Regions from separate parts of the Homo sapiens genome. Here all the other regions are linked to region 3. Evidence: promoter capture Hi-C in 16 types of primary human blood cells and fetal thymus (Javierre and others, 2016). All regions are on one chromosome and are shown on one strand. Each heading gives the region's core, a stretch centred on a gene start or on the middle of the fragment in contact. The rest is flanking DNA. Distances are from core to core; before and after follow the strand shown. Region 1 has its middle 140 kb from the start of PCMTD1-DT. Region 2 overlaps LOC124901944 (a long non-coding RNA gene). Region 3 holds the start of PXDNL (peroxidasin like). Region 4 overlaps LOC124901944 (a long non-coding RNA gene).

Region 1 (3,162 bases), core at 193-2,692, 230 kb after region 3:
CTGGTTGGACAGGCGCCGGCCACCACGCCTGCCTAATTTTTTGTGTTTCTTAGTAGAGACTGGGTTTCACCGTGTTAGCCAGAATGGTCTCGATCTCCTGACCTCGTGATCCTCCCGCCTCGGCCTCCCAAAGTGCTGGGATTACAGGCGTGAGCCACTGCGCCCGGCCCGGATGTTTAAATTTTTTTGAAATGAATCCCTCAAGCTGAGTCTATGCAGTATTATATTCATGAGCCACATAGCGACATTTCAGTCAATGGTGGGCTGCATATGTAATGATGGTCCTATTCTGTCTAATACTATATTTTTACTGTACTTTTTCTAGGTTTAGATATGTTTAGATACACAAATACCGTTGTGTTCCAATTGCCTGCAGTATCCAGTACAGTCCATGCTGTACAGGTTTGCGCCTAGGAGCAATGGGCTGTACCATATAGCCTGGGTGTGGGGTGGGCTCTACCATCTGGGTTTGTGTAAGTGTACTTTATGATGTTCGCAGTGTCGGAATTGCCTAACAGTGCGTTTCTCAGAAGGTATTGCTATCATTAAGCAACACATAACTGTAATTGAAACGACTTTGTGGAAATTATCTAATTTGGAGTGAATAACCGTACCAAGTTCAGATGAGTAAATCTCAAGGTAAATACTTGGAGAATGACTTGTTTAGTTAATTAGTTTGCTAGGGCTACCATAACGAAGTAGCACAGACTGGATGACTTAAGCAACAGAAATTTGTTGTCTCACTGTTCTAGAGGCTGGAAGTCTGAGATCAAGGTGTCAGCAGGGTTGGTTCTCCTGAGGGCTCTCTCCTCGGCTTGTAGAGGATGTAATCTTCCTGTGTCTTCAAATGGGCTTCCCTCTGTGTCTCTCTGTATCCTAATCTCTTTTTTTTTTTTTTTTTTTTTGAGATGGAGTCTCTCTCTGTTACCCAGGCTGGAGTGCAGTGGCGATATCTCGGCTCACTGCAAGCTCTGCTTCCCGGTTTCACGCCATTCTCCTGCCTCAGCCTTCCGAATAGCTGGGACTACATGTGCCTGCCACCATGCTCCGCTAATTTTTTGTATTTTTAGTAGAGACGGGGTTTCACCGTGTTAGCCAGGATGGTCTCGATCTCCTGACCTCGTGATCCGCCCGCCTCGGCCTCCCAAAGTGCTGGGATTACAGGCGTGAGCCACCTCGCCCGGCCCCCTAATCTCTTCTTAAAAGGACACCCGCCATACTGGATTAGGGCCCACCCTAATAACCTCATTTTAACTTAATCACCTCTTTAAAGGCCCTATCTGGAAATACAGTCCCTTACAAGGTACTGGAGGTTAGGACCTCAACATATGCATTTTGAAAGGACAGAAATCAGCCCACAATATTTAGCTTTTACAACTTAAATTAACCCGACAAATTTTGTGTCAGCCTAGAACTCTCAACATTTGGAACTTGCCTTGGTATTCTTCCGTTGTTTAAAATGTTCTCATTTCCTCTTTAGAGTCCCAACATTCAGAGGAACCAGATGTTTCAGTATCTTGGAGAGGAAACTCAAAGAGTGACAGATATTTTACAGAGGCAGGACCCCTTCACTGACTCAGGGACTGCACATGGCAAGCTCTGAAAAAACAACTTGGGGCTCCAGATGGGGGCTGGCACCCTCGCCTGCTTTCGGGGTTTCCTTCCTCTAAGACCCAATGCTTCTCTCTCTGTGCTTGGGTGGTTCACATGCAGGTGGGTAGCCCTGGACCTCTGTGCTTTTGTCAAAATCTTCTTTTCCTAATAACCTTAAGATCCCTCCCACTGCCATCCATGAGAGACATACTTAGCATGTTCCAATGTTTTATTTGCCTTTTCATTACTTTCCAACCCAAATCGAGAAATTAAAACACAAACCCACTTGCTCTACATCTCCCTCTCTCTCTGGACACTTTTTGTTCTACTTTCCCCAAATCCTTCTCTAGATGGTTGAGCAATAGACAATACTTGGTGATTCATTTCTGTCATTTTCCTTCTGCTTCACCTCCATGCTGTTGGTTTAGCATGATCTCATTACTTCTCATCTGCAAAGTTAACTGTCTGTCCTTTAAGTAAATTGGTCATTAATATCTCTCGTTGCTTTTAATTTTCACAACTTGAATTGGAAATGGAAATTCACTCTATTGTTGTGGTGAATTTTCCTCTACAGTCATCTGAGAGTCATCTGTGACATCTGCCTTCCCTCTCCATTCATGTAGTTTTCACCAGTTGCTATGGATGGCTCCTACCCCCATCTTCAACACACACCTTCTTTTCATTCCCGCTGTCACTGCCCAGTTCCCACCTGCATAATCTCCTGCCTGGATTAAGCCATAAAAGCCTCCAGTCTGGTTGCCACACCTCAAATATCACCCTCGCCTCAACACATTTGCTACAATGCTGGTGGAATAAAGGAATTTTCTAAAACTCATACCCAATGGGATGATACTCCTGCTTAAAATTCTTCAAAGGTTTCCAACTAAACAAATTCTAAAATCGTTTTCATGACATTTGAAACCCTTGAGAATAGAAATTGTCCCTATTTCTTGCATGTTTCCCAGTCACATCCATGCTAGGCTGTGCTGACCCCTGGCCCTGTCACTGGGAAGCCTTCCATGACCTCAGTCTGCCCTTCTAATTGACCTAATATGACACTTGCTTATTTCATACACTGTAGTCGATTATTTTTTACTTGTCTGATTTTCCTTCCAGAGTCTAGACAAGGAGCCTCAATGAGCACAGACTTCTCCCTTTAGATTGTATTTGTCTTTGCATATTTAACATAGAGTAAGTCCTCAGAACTTACAGTTGGATTAATACATATTTATAAAAATCTGAGGCCGGACTATATTCCTAGTAACTTTTAAAAAAGTTATATAATTATCAATAATTTCTTGAGTAATTGTCATTATTTACACTTCACATATTTCCAACAAACTGAGTTATCTAACAAGCTTATAGCATGTTAATATAGTGAGGCTAAATGGCAGGAGTTACCCAATGCAGAATGAATCAGTGTGTATAAAGCCATCTAGACTGCTGGGGGAGAACAAACGAAAAAGGAAAAACAAAACACACACAAAACTACCTGTCAATAGCATTTTTTTTTAAAGGTTGTTAATTGTGACTCTGAATTTAGTTTCTGACTTTTAAAAATCTTTAACT
Region 2 (3,156 bases), core at 188-2,687, 190 kb after region 3:
TATCTGTGTGACCTTGGACAAGTTGCTTTATTTTTCTGTGCTTCAGTTTTATCTGTAAAATGGGATAAAAAATAGTTTCCATTTTTATCCCATTTAGTCCCATAGAATAGTCTTCTATGAGACTGTTCTAAGGATTAAAAGTGAATATATGTAAGTCACTTAGAACATTGCCTGGCACACATATTATTATTGTTTTATGTAATATGTTCTTAAAATTCAATGAGTTATCTCTTTAATATGTTTTTTTAATGTTTGGTTTTATAGATTGCGCCAACAATTCATTTTATTTACTTATTCTTAAGGTAGAGCAACATTATTTGTATGAAATAGTTGCACAATATATCAACAACTACTAACAACTCAAATATATAACAATTATAGAATTAATAAGTAAACCACAGAATATATTATAAATTAAAAGGCAGACATGGAAAAATAGATTCATGAAAATTTTTGTATTAAAAAAGACAAGAAAAAATAGAATAATGTTATTTTTCCATTGATTTTATATATAACTGAGTTCTTAAAGAATGGAATCAGAAAAGTTGTACTTTACCATTTTTAACATGGTGGATTATTATTTTAAAGGCAAAGGTAAAGAGAAGAGACACTGTGATTTATTTAACAACCATGCCAATTTTCAGGTACCTCTAAGCTCTTCCAGTCATGGGCATAGACAATGCCTGCTTTCACCGAGGCTGTCTGGAAGCAAAGGCTCCACCACCATAATTGCCACTGGGACCCACCCTAGTCTAAGGAAATGATTCCAAGACACTCTATTTTTCTTAAATGAAATAGCCCTTTGTGTCTCAACCTTTTGAAGGCAGCCCAACCCACCTATATTACAACACCACAGCTAGATTCAGATTTTCCAGCAAGATTTTTCCAATGAAGAACAAAGCTTTATTGTAGCTTAGATGACAGGACTCCAAAGAAGTCTGGAAAAGAGGAAAAAAAAGCTCATATTAAACAATAGGCAGTATAATGTAAGTTAAAATAGAAATTAGGATACCATTGATGAAAAATATTTTACGTTTTCGTTTAGGGCATGTACTAGGATAGGATGGGTGAAATATTTTAGAGAGTGTTTATTTCCTTCTGGTATAATTTAGGATCAGAAAACCAGCAAGATATCTATATCTATATCTATATATCTATATCTATATATATCTCTATCTCTATATCTCTATCTCTATCTCTATATCTATATCTATATCTATATCTATATCTATATCTATATTTTTTTGAGATGGAGTCACTCTGTTGCCCAGGCTGGAGTACAGTGGCACGGTCTTGGTTCATTGCAACTTCCACCACCTGGGTTCAGGTGATTCTCCTGCCACAGCCTCCCAAGTACTTTGGATTACAGGCATGAGCCACCACATCCAGCTAATTTTTTTTTTTTTTTTTTGAGACGGAGTCTCACTCTGTCGCCCAGGCTGGAGTGCAGTGGCATGATCTTGGCTCACTGCAAGCTCTGCCTCCCGGGTTCATGCCATTCTCCTGCCTCAGCCTCCTGAGTAGCTGGGACTACAGGTGTCTGCCACCATGCCTGGCTAATTTTTTGTATTTTTAGTAGAGACAGGGTTTCACTGTGTTAGCCAGGATGGTCTTGATCTCCTGACCTCTTGATCCGCTTGCCTCGGCCTCCCAAAGTGCTGGGATTACAGGCGTGAGCCACAGTGCCCGGCCTAGCAAGGTATTTTTTTTTTAAATGTGGGCAGAACATAGAGAACTAGGGATTTGGTTAACATGGGATTTAAGTAAAATACACCATTTCTCCAATTTTGACATCTAAAAATTATCTGCATTAAAATATTTTTAAAAGTGCAATCATATTCAGTGCTAGTATTGCGGGAACAAAACACATTTATATACAACTATCTTTGTTTTTAGCTAGTGTCTTCTTCAGCACATACTACTATCTTTTAAAAATTAATTTGTAAACTAATCTACAAATCGTGAAAATAGTGTTAAGCTTATTGTCATTAATATGTTGCTTAATCTTTGTGTTTTAAATATATAAACAAGGTGTTTACATTAATTATTTTTCTTTTAGCACATCAAACTTAGTATAGTAATATGGATAAACCCTGATTTGTATAACTTTTAAAATAACATTTGGAAAGATACATTACATTCCTTAACAATATCTCGCTGATATTTTTTTTTTCAGTTTTCAAATTAAGAGAAAAAATGAAATGTGACAACTGAGAAATATGAAAGAGTCTATTTACTATAAACTAGTTTACAGATTGAGTTAAAATAATGAGATGAGGAGACTTCTGGCAGACACACAGGACTTGTTTACATTTTGATTGCAGTTTAATAATTTGCTGATTGCATTATAATCACAGCAATATTGCATTTTAATCACATGCATACATGTGGTTAACTAAATTAATACCTTTAAATCACAATTTGATTTTTGCTAATACATAACCAGTTCTTTTTCTGTCCCTGCTCCAATGAGGATAATAACCAGTGAGCATGGTTTTGGATCAATTCTTTTTGGTAAACTCCCTAGCCACGTTCTGCTTCTTGCCTACTAAAGACATCATCTTTCACACAAATGTGGAATAATGAATAATGCTTCATAGAATAATATATAATAAACTGGAAGCAAGCTTCATTTAGCATAAACCTGCAATATTCTTTGTGTGACTAAAATCCACAATTACTGGAGCAGAGAATTGCCCTGCTCCTCTCAAATTGTGTGCCTTTCCTTCACGGTGCTGAGGCCGTTTGGTCTCAAGTGGGCAAGTGGTTGGAATGAGTCCTTGTAGAAGGGGGTCACAGGACAAGTCACAAGACCTTTTAGAATCTGCAAACACTGTTGCAAGTTTTCAGTGTACCCCTCTCTCCGTTAGTCAAGCATGGACTCATTTTTAGTAGAAAAAATTACAAGAAGGCAGAAAATTATTCACAGTCCCACTGCCCAGATAATCTCTGTGCCATTTAAAAAATAAAACATGGGGCCAGGCATGGTGGCTCATGCCTATAATCTCAACAGTTTGGGAGGCTGAGGCAGGCAGATCACCTGAGTTCAGCAGTTTAAGACCAGCCTGGCCAACATGGTGGAACCCTGTCTCTACAAAAATACAAAAATTAGCCAGGCATGATAGTGGATGCCTGTAATCCAGCTATTCGGGAGGC
Region 3 (3,343 bases), core at 711-3,210:
TGGGGACACAGATCCAAACCATATCAAACACTGTTAGCATCTCCATTTTTACAGATTAGGAAACTGTGACACCAAGAAGTTAAGAATTTGTCCAAGGCAACACATTTTGTAAGTGGTGGCACCAGACTCCCAGACAGGAATCTAGCCAAGGGCCTGAGAATCCACCATTAAGCTTTATTTTTAAACATAGTGGAAGGCTCTGCATGACAACACTGACAACATCACTTCAGTTCTGCTCATTACATTTAGAGGTGTGTGTCTAATGCAAGCTAATCTCTTCTTTGAAACACCTAGGAAACAAAATTTAGGTCGAGTTGTACCTCATGTAGCTCCAAGATACTTCATTAGACAAGCAGCCCCTTCTCCAAGGCTTTGCTGCTATCTACCAAAAAACTGTCATTACAAAAGGACAAATGGCTGGTTCTGAGTCTGAAGGCACTTGCAGAACTGTGCTGTCCACATAGCAATAAGCAGTGCTCCCAAGTTCAAGAATCCTTTCAGTTATTACAGTAAGACGTATTTTGATATCTGCATGCATATAAAATTAATGAAATGCTTTATAGAAATGAAAATCTATGGATAATATGTCATTTTCTATGTAAATACCATCAAATTGGACTTTTTATTACCAAGTCCTCATTTCACGATTATGACTGACAAATGTGTGGCAATGATCCTCTTAAACATTTATATCTCAAAATTCCAGGAATTTTAAGCTATTTCCCTCTGCCCAAGAATGGACTTGAAACACTGCAAGCAGTTTTGTCTTCCATGAACATGACACAACCCACAAAATATTTATTATAGAGCAGGAAACCTCTTTAGTCTGCATCTTTCAGCATTTTTCCTTTTCTTCTTTTATTTTTTCTTAAATTTTTGAATTTGTCGTCTTTTTCTTTCTTTAAAAATAGACCCTAGAAACAGATCCTTTTCTTCTTTTGTGGTGATTTGCCCTTCTAATTATCTAATTATGACTTAATTTAATCTAAATAAATCTAAATGTTTGGGTTTATTATCTGAATATTAAAGATGAGAAGATAGGATTTGAACTCAGACCTGTTTGACTTCCAAATTCTGGTTTGCCCTACTATCCCGTAATGCCTCCTAGATGCCGATTAGTCTAAGCGGCTGCTCCACAAGGCTTTTAAGCATTCAAGAACTCTACTGGACCATTTGAGGGTCTGTTCTGGAGACAGACAGTGCTTCAAGTGCTGAGGGCTCAGGACTTCACCCTCCCAGGAGGTACACACAGTACAAAGCCTAACAATTTGTCAGCACATAATCAATTGAAACCACACTCTAAAGTTAAATTAGTTCCTTCCAAATGGGGCAGACACGTGCTGACCAATTAAGAGGCCCAAAGACTTGGGAGTAGAGGATGAATAGGAATAAATTGAGAAAGTATGCAGGAAAATTATTGAAGGAAGAATGAAGACGAGAATTCTCAATGCTAAGTTCTGGAAGATGCTGGAAGAGAACTGAATCCAAAACAAATATATTTATGTCAACTCATCATTGCTTACATTTTCTAGTCTAACAGAGCAGAACCATGAAATTGTTTGAAAAGTGAAAAGCCTCTTCTAAGTATACAAGCAGGGAGAGCATTAGGAATCGTAAATTAAAAGGACACAGGTCCTAGCAGAGAAGCAATGAAGCATTGGGGAAGAGGGTTTCTGGGGAATTTATGTGAACTTACAGAACTGTGGTCTGCTGTGGTACCTGAGGAATGTGGTCCAGCATCAAGTGCATGCAGCGGACGGTGCTCTTAAAGCAAAGGCACCGGCTGGGGCAGGGCAACCCTGGCAGGCACCACCCGGCCAGGAGAAAGAGAGTGGTCCAGCAGAACAGTCTGGGCTCCATCGCTCCATTCGCTGCTGGCCACGCGAAGAAGCAGCCGGAGGGAGAGCAGCAGCTGCAGCTGCAGCAGCAACCGCAGTGGTGGTGATGGTGGCTGCTGGACTGAGCCAAGTTTGGGAGCCGTGGTGGAAAGCAGCTCCCAGGGAAAGGACACCCCTCTGACCAATCCAGGAGGAGGGATATCACATTACAGGGCTGAGGGCACAAGCAGCTCTAGGAAGCACTAGACTCCCAGAGGCGAGGACGAGAAGCTTTTCAATGCAAAAGCCTCTTTCTAAAACACCGTGTTTTAGGCAGCATAATGCAAACAAACTTTTCCAAAATTACTTCCACTGCGCATTTGATGAAAAACCCGACCTCTTAGCCTCCAGCTGTCCTCTTGAAGCCCAAGTTGATTAAGAATGTATTGAAACAATGCAGAACAGCTTTTCTTCTTTTTTATCTGGTAACATTACCAAACCCTAAAGGGCAGGCAGAGTTCTAATTCGTTCATCTAGGTGCACATATTCTTTCTTTATTCCAAACTATGCTCTTTAATAAAAATTGTTTCATTTCCTTCTATATATTCTGCTGCTGAAACCCAACACATTTCACTCATGTAAGACTCAAACGGGCTACTTCTGATTTCTTCTTTTAACGTTTAAATTTATATGCTTAAAACCATGAACTCACATACCTCCTTCAAGAGGATACAACTGATGGACAAACCTAAGTATGTATATGTAAAGTCAAACAGATGCAAGCTCCCTCAGGACACACTGGCAGCAGTGGTCTTGCTGGTTGCAGACTTTTCATCAGCAGTTTGAACTGGCCATCTTTCCCTGAAGTGAGCAGCACCTCGTTGAGGACGTGTCTGAAAACTTAATAAATATGAAAACATCTACTTTTTGGTCATTCTGTAAGCAGGTATTTTTAAACAGATTTTTGGCTTTATCTTTAAAGACTAACATTTTCAAACAAAAATGTTTTAAATCCATAAAAGTAATAGAAAACAAATTAAAACTTGCATGGTCAATCCCAGATGATCAGACTAGTAGACCAATCTTAAGAGGAAAATAAGTTCATCCTTGTCTCTGCAGAAATGTTTCAGTCCCTTTACATTCTACTGTAGGCGAATACTGCCCTCTTTTGGCAAAATGTTCATATCTAAATATGTGATTTTGGGGAGATTAAAATGTAAAAAGATCTAAAAAACAAAACTAATCTCCATGAACAAGAATGATTTATTTTAAACTTTACATTTGACATTGTTCACATGACTTTTATTGTCCAAGTATACCAATAAAGCCAAAAAACGAAATTTATTCCTTTAAATCCCAACAATCACTATGCTCTTGGCAGTGCCTGTGATTTGGAGGACATAGACAAGACCTGCAGGTTTGTGCCTTGTTTGCAGTTCAAAATATAAAATACAAAAAATATAAATAATATAAAATATATAAAATACAAAAATATAAAAATATCTTGCATTCATAAAGTAGACTTA
Region 4 (3,242 bases), core at 193-2,692, 210 kb after region 3:
CATAATTAAACCATTAATTAGTTTATTTAATAAACTAATATAAAATTAGTTGTTATTTATCTTTTATCAAAAATTCAACCAAAGTTTTGAATATTAAAAAAAATCTGTAAAAATTTTACTTGGGTCTCTCTGACATCTTCACTGCACTTAATTACATTAGTTTAAACAGTAAAAAAAGAAGGAAAATACTAGGCACATTATATTATACTGTAGAAGTAAAGGAGAACTTTGTATTTTGCTTAGTCATCCTTTTATTTTCATAAAAGTTGAAGCTTATCGGTCAGCACATGCAGTGATACACACTCAAGCAAACACATAGAAAAACATCTCAGAGGTTGTGTCAAAGCGTAATAAAGCTTGTCCTCCTTTCTGGAATTAAATGAGCATTTAGAGAAATGTGGTTTGTGCCAGGCTGCCTGATCACAGAACGTCTCTGAGCCTGTCATGCCAAGCTTGAACAAACCAATGTGAAGATCCTCTTCAGATAACTTCTTTCTTTAAAATTTCATATCATTCTGCACCGACAAATATTCCTTTTTACTATCAATCATTTAAATATCTAATTATTAAATATTTAAAATGTTCAAAAAACACAGTGAAAAATGTAACAAGAACCTACCACCTGGATTTCACAGATGTCAGCATACTTCCATGAGAAAAAAATAGCCTTAGATATTTTCGTAGACATTAACAGACTTAATGTTGTGATTTTGTTGACAGGCAGTGGGAAGGGAATGATTCTATTTGATGTCAAATGGATGCGATATATCCATCTAATTTAAACACTGTTGATGCTATTTAAATATTTCTATGATATTTTCACCACATCTTTGTGATTTTAGGTTGTCTATTTTCCCTCTGCTATTGACACATTCCTTGTGAAATGCTACTTAGGATTTAGGATGTCTAGACTATGAACAATTTTATAAAGTGTGTTTTACAAAGTGAAAAAAATGTCTTTGAAAATAGTTCTGAAAGCGAGGATGCCTAAATAAATATTTTTCAAATCATGTTTTTTATATTTGCCACCCTTTCCTTTTATTCTTGGCATCTACTTTCTTTTGTTCTTAATCTTCTTTTTCTACCCTCAAACAGTCCTGGAAGATCTCAGTTGAAAACAATTCCATCTTCCCTTCGTATTCTCTTTCTTAGTTATGTCTACCCTAAGAGTTTGGGTAAGATATTAGGTTGTAATATATTTTCTCTGAATTAGATATGGTTCTAAAAGAAAAAACATATGTACCTAGATACCTACATATCATTCTGTAATGTATATATTTTCTAAAAACTATGAGATATAATTACATCTGTAAGATTATATCTCATAGTTTTTAGAAAATTAGAATTTAAAAAGCCAAAGTTGTAAAACTGGAATTAAAAAAACCAGAGTTGTAAAATTAGGTGCATTATTTTTGATAACCACTGTTTTGATTATAATTGTGTTACTAATACATAGAATTTAGTACTTGATTATTTTTCACTGTCAATATTGAGAATGTATTCATGTATATTCCAAATTAAAAGAAAACTAATTCTAATATATATATATATATCTATGTATTTCCCTCTCTCTCTCTCTCTGTCTCTCTCTCTCTCTCTCCTCTCTTTCTCTGGCCCCTAGGCTTATAATCTATATCTTTTACATTGAGAAAATGAAAGTTTCAGTTTATAATTCCTGCCAAATGACCACATTCAGCCACAGTCAGTATTTTGAGAGTACAAGAATAAATCGAGCAAGCAACATTGGAATATGCACTTGCTCCTTGCTTAGGCAATATTCCTGACTGGCCAAGAATGGATGGCTTTAGCACCCACTCACCTTCCTCAGGCCCCTTTTGATCAAACGTACGCCACCTAATCAGCATCTCCAATCTGTTCTTGACTTTCCATCTCAATAAGACTTTGTACTATTCTCACTCTGCTCCTCTTCACTCTGGCATCTCCCCTTTCTACCCATTTTCCACATAGCCAGTGATACTTTATATCTTATACAGCACTAATCTGACCATGTTCTGCTTAAAAACCAAGCTAGCATGCAAGGAATACAAAACTAATTTGGATGTCTTTCATGACCTTCATGAACCTGCTCTGGCCTGTCTTTTCAGCATCATCCTCAGGTACTCATTACAGCATATAGCCTACCACGTAGCAATTAGTCCTTCCATGAAAACTGTGTGTTTTATGTCTCTGTGCTCTTTTTGGCAAATTGTTTTTTCTAGATGCAATGTCTTTTCTTCCCCTCTTTGCTTGGCACAACATGGCATAATCTTCAAGGCCTAAGTCAATTGTCACTGTCTCTCCAGGAAGAAAGAATCATGCACTCTTCTGCGGCCCCATTGCTGTGTGTCCACTCTTAGAGCATTGTTCAAAGTATATGCAATTGGTACAAATCTAACTCCTTTGAGAAAGCCAAGTCTTTTATTAAAATAACACAAGCTTTGGAGCACAGAATTTAAATTCCAGCACTGCCACCTGCAGTTCTGAAGACTTTAGATACAACCTTTTCTATGCAAAGAGAATAATGTCTATCTTGGGGTGCTATTATGTATGAAGCAATCAATAGATGTATTGTTTGTTATCCGTACATGCTGTCCAGATTATGATATCTTTATGGTTCTATTCTTCCTTCTATTTTTGTATCCAGTACCTAGCATAGAGTCTAGCATGAGGTAAACTCTCAAATATTTATTGAATGAATGATAGCATATGTAAGCAGAGATTAACTATAGGCATTGGCAGAGAATGCAACTGAAATATATATGATATACTCTATTAATATCAACTCTAGCTGGACTTGAGGTATAGTTAACATGGAGAGAAAATTGTATCTTGTCATCTTATAATAAAGTATTTTCAATTTGACTTCTGATTAGGTAGGCAAACCAGAAACCCAAATTCTACTTCCTTGATTTACTTGTAGAAAATTATTTTCAGAATGAAACAACTGGCTTCTATCCTTTAAACTCAGAATTTATAACTCACAGGTCCTCAATCATTTGAAATTTGGTTAAATACAAAATCAAACCTAATTCAGGCCATTAATTACAGAGCTCCTAATGTTCTATTCAGCTTTGATAGCTATATTCTCTAGAAGAAAACAGCAACAATTGTAAAACAGTTATTTCTGTTGGCTAGGAAATTTCAAGTTCTTTGGGATTTTACCCAACTCTACATTTATTCACATATTTTTCCCTCTTGTTAGGAGTAAGGTGCATGGGGAAATTGCACAAATTAGCTTCAGC

What was found. The method cuts DNA at HindIII sites, captures the fragments that hold promoters and counts their contacts. A CHiCAGO score of 5 or more calls a contact.
Region 1: a contact is called between a fragment that was not itself captured here and the fragment with the promoter of PXDNL in region 3, in 4 of 17 cell types (non-activated CD4 T cells, activated CD4 T cells, total CD4 T cells and 1 more). The highest score is 6.5, in non-activated CD4 T cells.
Region 2: a contact is called between a fragment that was not itself captured here and the fragment with the promoter of PXDNL in region 3, in 1 of 17 cell types (non-activated CD4 T cells). The highest score is 6.1, in non-activated CD4 T cells.
Region 4: a contact is called between a fragment that was not itself captured here and the fragment with the promoter of PXDNL in region 3, in 11 of 17 cell types (total CD4 T cells, non-activated CD4 T cells, M0 macrophages and 8 more). The highest score is 7.5, in total CD4 T cells.

Annotation. Positions count from the first base shown.
Region 1 is chr8:52,037,150-52,040,311 of GRCh38, forward strand. No RefSeq gene overlaps it. Among named protein-coding and RNA genes, the nearest start is that of PCMTD1-DT, 140 kb to the left of the region's middle. The HindIII fragment of the contact is 3,013 bases long and covers 1-2,949 here.
Region 2 is chr8:51,995,330-51,998,485 of GRCh38, forward strand. The region is part of intron 1 of LOC124901944 (a long non-coding RNA gene); the gene reads left to right. Among named protein-coding and RNA genes, the nearest start is that of PCMTD1-DT, 98 kb to the left of the region's middle. The HindIII fragment of the contact is 1,077 bases long and covers 900-1,976 here.
Region 3 is chr8:51,807,485-51,810,827 of GRCh38, forward strand. It overlaps PXDNL (peroxidasin like), which reads right to left and starts at 1,961. Exons shown (of 23, transcript NM_144651.5): 1 at 1,697-1,961. The coding sequence starts at 1,860. RefSeq lists enhancers at 1,334-1,856, 1,857-2,378. The HindIII fragment of the contact is 1,936 bases long and covers 171-2,106 here.
Region 4 is chr8:52,016,948-52,020,189 of GRCh38, forward strand. The region is part of intron 1 of LOC124901944 (a long non-coding RNA gene); the gene reads left to right. Among named protein-coding and RNA genes, the nearest start is that of PCMTD1-DT, 120 kb to the left of the region's middle. The HindIII fragment of the contact is 1,984 bases long and covers 451-2,434 here.